Regions from separate parts of the Homo sapiens genome. Here region 1 is linked to region 2. Evidence: promoter capture Hi-C in human tissues and cell types (Jung and others, 2019). All regions are on one chromosome and are shown on one strand. The core of a region is centred on a gene start or on the middle of the fragment in contact, and the rest is flanking DNA. Distances in the headings are between cores, read along the strand shown.

Evidence for each region. Contacts are between HindIII fragments. The study calls those that stand out against the background at their distance.
Region 1: a fragment that was not itself captured here is called in contact with the fragment with the promoter of FGFBP2 in region 2 in 1 of the 25 tissues and cell types used here (dorsolateral prefrontal cortex).

The regions. Positions count from the first base shown.
Region 1 is chr4:17,516,335-17,520,174 of GRCh38, reverse strand. The region is part of intron 1 of CLRN2 (clarin 2); the gene reads right to left. Among named protein-coding and RNA genes, the nearest start is that of CLRN2, 3.1 kb to the right of the region's middle. The HindIII fragment of the contact is 3,904 bases long and covers 1-3,445 here.
Region 2 is chr4:15,961,059-15,964,449 of GRCh38, reverse strand. It overlaps FGFBP2 (fibroblast growth factor binding protein 2), which reads left to right and starts at 1,275. Exons shown (of 2, transcript NM_031950.4): 1 at 1,275-2,012. The coding sequence starts at 1,321. The coding sequence ends at 1,992. RefSeq lists an enhancer at 404-1,245. The HindIII fragment of the contact is 18,537 bases long and covers 1-3,391 here.

The DNA of each region.
Region 1 (3,840 bases), core at 244-2,743, 1.6 Mb before region 2:
CGGCCTTCATAGTAGGAAGTGCATTAACTATAATTAAAAAATACTTATTGGCAAAGGGCAAATCTCACTCAACCCCCACATTCTTGGGCCATAACACAGGGCTCAGGACCTCATGTTTAATAGAGATTTTATTATTTTTTAATATATGTCATTATTTAGAAATTCGAGGCTGGGGCAGTGGCTCATGCCTGTAATCCCAGCACTTCTGGGAGCCATTATGGGGGGATTGCTTGAGGCTAGGAGTTGGAGATAAGTCTGGGCAACATAGCAAGGCTCTGTCTCTAAATTAAATTATTTTTTAAAAAAGAAGAAAAAAGTAGAAATTCAAATCATTTCTCAGGAGTGTTAATGCACCAGTTCTTTCTACTTTCTCACTGAGAGGTGACTCTGCCTTAGCCTGACACCCAGTGCTGCCCTAGGAAAGCTGTTGCTCACTTGCCTTTCACATTTGAAATCCAGGTTCCAAGAGTTTTAGATGTCTCCCACTAGGAATTAAATTTAAGTTTCTAGCTTGAAATCCATGACCCTACACACGACTCATGGTGATAAATGACAACACGATTCATGGTGATAAATGACAACAGCCACCTATATGGGGTGCAGACTATGTGCCGGTGGCTTTATACATATTCTTTGTTCTGTTGCTCATGGACACCCTCTCTCATGCTTACAAATGAGGAAACTGAGGCTCGGAGAAGTGAAATAGCTTAGCTACGCTCCCACAGCAAGAAAAGTGTCAGCTTAACTACTCTATTACAGGGCTAGAGCAGAAAAATCAGAAAGCACAGATAAGTAGAGGTTTAAAATTCTAAACATAGAGTCTTTTGAATCCTGGAGGTCTCATTTTGAATTTGAATAGATATAGTTGTTTCCTACACATTAGAGGCAACTCACTTGAAAGCAGAATTGATTAATCATTCTATCAGCATCATTCTATCAGCATATGATGCATCTATCAGCATCTATCAGCATATGATGCATCTATCAGCATCTATCAGCATCTAAGATAATTTGTTTGCTCCGAATCCCAGAGAGGTCTGGCAGTCCTTTTCGCCCCAGCAGGGCAAATAAGAAAAGCAGGACATCTGAAGTCAAACCCAGGTCCTGGCCACTAGTGGAATACCTGTGAGGCAGGAAGTAGAGAGGAACCAGAGAACTAAAAGCTGCAAAGCAATCTATTACATTAGGTGCTTTTAAAGAAATTATTTTATGTATCGATTTCTCTGGTCTCTAATTTCCTCATCAGTAAAATGGGCGTAATAAAATCTCTTCTCTAGCATAGTAAAAATGGAAGGAAATGAACTACAAGGCAATGGCTTCAGATACTGTGTTCTGTGCCTAGTATATATTTATCTGCCTCTCCTTTATCAGATGGTAAATTTTTCTTTCTTTTTCCTTTCTCTTTTTTTTTTTTAGATGGATTTTCACTCTTTTCACCCAGGCTGGAGTGCAATGGCACAATCTTGGCTCACTGCAACCTCCACCTCCCAAGTTCAAGTGATTCTCCTGCCTCAGCCTCCTGAGTAGCTGGGATTACAGGCACCTGCCACCACGCCCGGCTAATTTTTGTATTTTTAGTAGAGACGTGGTTTCACCATGTTGGCCAGGCTGGTCTCAAACTCCTGATCTCAGGTGATCCACCTGCCTTGGCCTCCCAAAGTGCTGGGATTACAGGCGTGAGCCACTGTACCCGGCCAGATGTTAAGCTTTTCTAGGGCAAGTACTTGTCTGGTTTGTTCATCCCTGTTTTCTTAAGAGCCTGGTCTGTAAATACTCCATAGTACAATTGAATGTGTGGACAATGCTAAAGTAATGTTTGTCTTTTTCTTTCTCTAGCCACCCAAACAGCCATGTTGACTTGTTTTTATTTCATAGGGCCTGGGTATAAAAAAAGGACCTTAATCTTTGCGATGGATAGTTCTTTGGTTTTCTCCATGATTGGCGTGGGAATTTATTCCCCTGGGTGATTTTTTGGGGAGGCCTCTGTGATGAGAAAAGTGGCTGTTTGTGAACGAGACCCAATAAACCTCCCCATCCCAGAGTTTGCAAAGCATTTTCACTTACGTCCCCATCTACACTGATCTGCGACTGTGGGGATTATTTTTTTTTTTTTCTACAGATGGATAGTGAATGGCAGAAAGAGACCCCAGGAGAAACAGACTCCTGGTTGTGGGAGGCTCTGATATACCCCGTAGCTGCCTCGAGGTTACACTGTGCTAGAATTAAAAGCTGTAAATCTAAAGGAGACTAGACTGGCACTATCAGTGTCCCTGAGCTGTACTGGGGTAAAGCCAGCCAAGCACAGGAGGAACCTGGCCCCAGGCTCCTCGTGAATGCTTTGAAAGAGAATCACATCCAAGGTACTGCGAATGGATGTTTACAGACCCTCCTCTGAGACAACCCCAGGGCAGCAGGAAACAAAACCTTCTCAAATACGCTCCTACTCAGGGACAAGAATAAAATGTCCTTTATGCTTCTCACAGGGTTCTGATGCTTTCCAGACCAGACCACGTTAGATGAACCCAGGGGAATGTTTCCCATTGGTGTCCTTCTAAGAAGGAAGAAGGAGGAAGGCAAGAAGTACTTACTGAGTTCCTCCAAGGCTCAAACAAAATATGCATTTGTTTGCAGCTTCCTACTCGAAGCAGTTTACATTTCTGTGAGCTGGGAATGGCAGGGGTCTGGTCATTAGGTTAATGCTGGCATGTGACTGCTGTTTAATCTTCTCACCCCATTCAAGTTTCAACGATTTACCTGTTGGGGTTCAGAAACCAACACCCCTAAAATATGAAGCTTTGTGAAGAAGTCTCAAGGTCTCTCTGGCCTCCCCTCTCCCTCGTGTCTCTCCATTCTTTGTCTGTCTCATAAGCACAGGATGAGGTTGTTCTCTGACATTCCCTTACCTGCCTACATCCAGACCTACCAAAGAAAAAGACCTCTGGTCCCTTCCCTGAGTGTTCATTAATTGTACCCATATCACAGGAAGAAAGACTAAAGTCTGTTAACACAGCTGGACAGACTTTTGTCACAAACCAATGTCTGCTCTGTGGGCTCAACAGACTTTGTCCCAGCTCACTGTATGTTCTTTAAGCCCATTGAATTTCCCTAAAAATAATTTACTAGTCCCCTAAAATCATCCACACTTCCCCATCTCTCTTTCCCCTAAGATGAAGAGGATACAACCACCTGTACCCCATTGAGATAGCGGACAATCACTCTGTGATTTTTCCCCTATGCATGCTAATAAATGTGTAAGCCATTTTCCCTATTAATCTGCCTTTTGTCAGTAGATTGTTTAGAGAACCTTCAGAGTGCAAAGGGGAAGTTTTCTTGACCCCTAAAGTCCCGAAGACATCCTTTATAGCAAAGCATCTAGTTCAGAATCGAGTAGTCCATGTAGTTGTCATGGTTAGCTTTTAGCATTTCTTTTTTTTATTTGTTTATGTGTGTGTGTTTTCAAGTTTTATGTTATAATTTTGATGGAGCTATTTGTTCAATATCCAGGGTCTAATCTAATTGCTAGGTAAATATAAATATGCCCAGACATATTGATCTTGAATATACATAACAAATGTAAATTTTTGTGTGTTTAAATGATGACAATTTGTATTATATTTGTCAACGGTTCCAGCTTTTTGTCCTTATAAATTTAATACGACATTTACCTTGGCCAGATTTCTATAAACTACTACAATACTGAAATATAGAAATCAAGGAATGAATACAATTCTGTATCACCCTACATTGGCATGGTATTGATTAATTACGGTTTTGTGCAGACACTTTTCACCAGTGATCTCATCGATTCAAAAGGCTTGCAGAATATTGCCTGTTTTGTTT
Region 2 (3,391 bases), core at 26-2,525:
GACAAATTGACTGACTTGTCTTGAAGGTTTGGCACCACTTCTTGGAAGCTTCCTCTGCTCCCCACCTGGGGTGATGCCCTCTTCTGGAAGGCTCTCACTGCTACACACACAGTGGCTGCCGAAGCTCAGCCTGGCTTTAGTTCCAGCCCTACTAGGTCTTCTCAGGACTCAGGATATCCAGGTGGAAGGAAGGCTGTGCCAGGTACCAACTACCCTACGTGGGATCGCCAAGATAAATCCCTCACATTCAAACTAGTCCCCCAACATCCGTCAACCCTATTCCTAACAGCAAATTGCCACCTTTAGTCCACTCCACAGTGCCCTCTGGAAGGGTCATCAAAAGACAGTTATGACCATACCAAACTATGATTCTTGACACAGAATCAAAAGTTATTTTCAATTTATTTTTTTTCTATTGTAGAACAATAATAATAATATTTAAAATCATATTTTCCTGTGATATAATTAAAACTGTGTTATTTCAATTGAATTTGAAATAGAATTCATGGTCTAAAATAGACTGAATCCCACTGTGAACATATATTTGCATGCCTTCCTCGTCATCATTCAGTTGGTGCAATTGTAAGGCATGCAATAACAAGGGAAGTGAACATTGCAGCACTGTGGCCTGTGGCCACGGTGATGGCGGGACAGCCCCACAGAGGCCACACCAGGTGACTCTCAGCTCGGTGGGTGGGAGGGGGAGTGTCTCTGTGTCCCTCTGGCACACACATCCTCACACAACCTCACATAGTCTTTTTTGCATTTGCTAGGCCATCTCATAACACTTAGGCTCATAAAATTCTGGCTTCCTTTGGATTAACTAAACCCATGGTCCCCCAAGATGGGGATTCCAGGGAGCAGGAGGGAGCCTCGAGGCAGCCCAGACTCCCAGCTGCAAACCTCACTTTCCAGAATACCACTGCCACACCTTGGCATATACCAAATGTTGACAAAGAAGGCTGTTCCCGTACAAGGGCCAATTTTAGAGCAAGCACCCTGTGGTTGGAAAACTGTAAAACCCTCAGCCCCAAAGCTGTGTGTGGCGCTTTGTGCGTGACAGGGCTGGGGCAGATCTCTCTGAGGCACTCAGGAAAACCATTCCCTTTGCTTGTGGTGGGCGGCCCCTGGTGGCTGCTCTGCCCTTGCCAAGTGTTACGTGTCTAAGGTCTGTGGGCATGTTTCTCATTTGCTGCAAAACATCCTCCCCACCCTTGCAGAGAAAGAGTCTTTTGTGCAGCACCCTTTAAAGGGTGACTCGTCCCACTTGTGTTCTCTCTCCTGGTGCAGAGTTGCAAGCAAGTTTATCGGAGTATCGCCATGAAGTTCGTCCCCTGCCTCCTGCTGGTGACCTTGTCCTGCCTGGGGACTTTGGGTCAGGCCCCGAGGCAAAAGCAAGGAAGCACTGGGGAGGAATTCCATTTCCAGACTGGAGGGAGAGATTCCTGCACTATGCGTCCCAGCAGCTTGGGGCAAGGTGCTGGAGAAGTCTGGCTTCGTGTCGACTGCCGCAACACAGACCAGACCTACTGGTGTGAGTACAGGGGGCAGCCCAGCATGTGCCAGGCTTTCGCTGCTGACCCCAAACCTTACTGGAATCAAGCCCTGCAGGAGCTGAGGCGCCTTCACCATGCGTGCCAGGGGGCCCCGGTGCTTAGGCCATCCGTGTGCAGGGAGGCTGGACCCCAGGCCCATATGCAGCAGGTGACTTCCAGCCTCAAGGGCAGCCCAGAGCCCAACCAGCAGCCTGAGGCTGGGACGCCATCTCTGAGGCCCAAGGCCACAGTGAAACTCACAGAAGCAACACAGCTGGGAAAGGACTCGATGGAAGAGCTGGGAAAAGCCAAACCCACCACCCGACCCACAGCCAAACCTACCCAGCCTGGACCCAGGCCCGGAGGGAATGAGGAAGCAAAGAAGAAGGCCTGGGAACATTGTTGGAAACCCTTCCAGGCCCTGTGCGCCTTTCTCATCAGCTTCTTCCGAGGGTGACAGGTGAAAGACCCCTACAGGTAATACCCTTTCCTTTACTCATATACAGAGACTACGTGTATATACTTATATACAGAGACTACGTGAGAGGCACTTAGCACTTTCACAGCTGCTGCGACCACATCAGAGTCTCAGCGTGTGTTTGGGGGTGGGTTTGAGGCTGTCTGTTGCAGAGCAGTGTAGATGAGGTAGTTCATCCGGAGTGGCACTTGACCCTGGAGTTGCATAGGAATCACCTACAAGGAGCTCTAAAAATGCTGATGCCCAGGCCCCTCGCCAGACCGTTCCATCTATGTCTCCAACATAGTAGCGCAGGAATGTGGACTTTTAAAACTCTCCCCCAAGTGATTTGAATGTGCAGCCAAGGTTGAGAATCTCCTTGTGATGGAACCACCTCACTGTTAGACCGAGGCCTTTGGAATTCTGCCGGGTAACGTTTCCTAATGAACCAAGCATTTGCTGCAGCTGTTAGTGGCCGAGGTGCTATGTCATGGTGGAGGTGTCGCCACACCCCGTCTTGTTCTCAGTTTTTTCTCCTACAGTCAAGTTAGGGTGGGGAGTGTTGTGCACTGAGGAAAGTTTGAGTCAAATAGTCTTTAAAGTCTTTCTCACAGCTCTCAAAGCCTTTAATTGTTTTTTGTTCATCACAGAGGAGAAAATCTAATTAATAATAACAGATTTAATCAACTCCAAGTATTGCTTTTAAAAGACCAAACTTTTTCTTGTGGAAATAAGGCTTATTACTGATCTCTATCCTTAAATGTAGCAGCTTTCATTAATTTTGCACACCAGTAAGGAGTTCATTTACATGGGATTCTAGTCTTACTTGTGCACTTTGAGTTTAAAAGGAGAGTTTCTGAGTTTTTTTCATATTATCTATGTAAGAAAAATAGGAACAAAGCAGATTTCCTGATAAACAGCACTTTGATAACGAATACCACCAAACAAATAAGGCTTTTTCTACAAGCGCCCAGGCAGCAAGAAATGTTGGTTCACAACAAAGTTGTTTTGGTGTCTGCTGTTCTGGGCTGGAGGTTTTCTGCTTGTTTAAGATTTCAGATCTGTCCCAGAGGAGAAAAGGGGACACTTAAGCCAAAAAAAGTTACTATTGAGAGGAGGTCCTTTTTTTTTTCTTTTTAAAGTGATTTTTTTGGTCTTTCTACAAATAAGACATACAAATCATTTGAAAAATTCAAACACAACAGAAAAATACAAAGAATTTTAAAACTTCATCCATAATCCCACCACACAGAGATAAACAATGTTAACAGAAGAGTACCCATTTAGACATCCATCCATGCGTATTTACACAGACAGATGTACAGCGTATATACAGATGCATACAGGCGCTAAAGCTCAAAACAATATCTTGATCCTGCAGATAAGCTGCATAGGACTA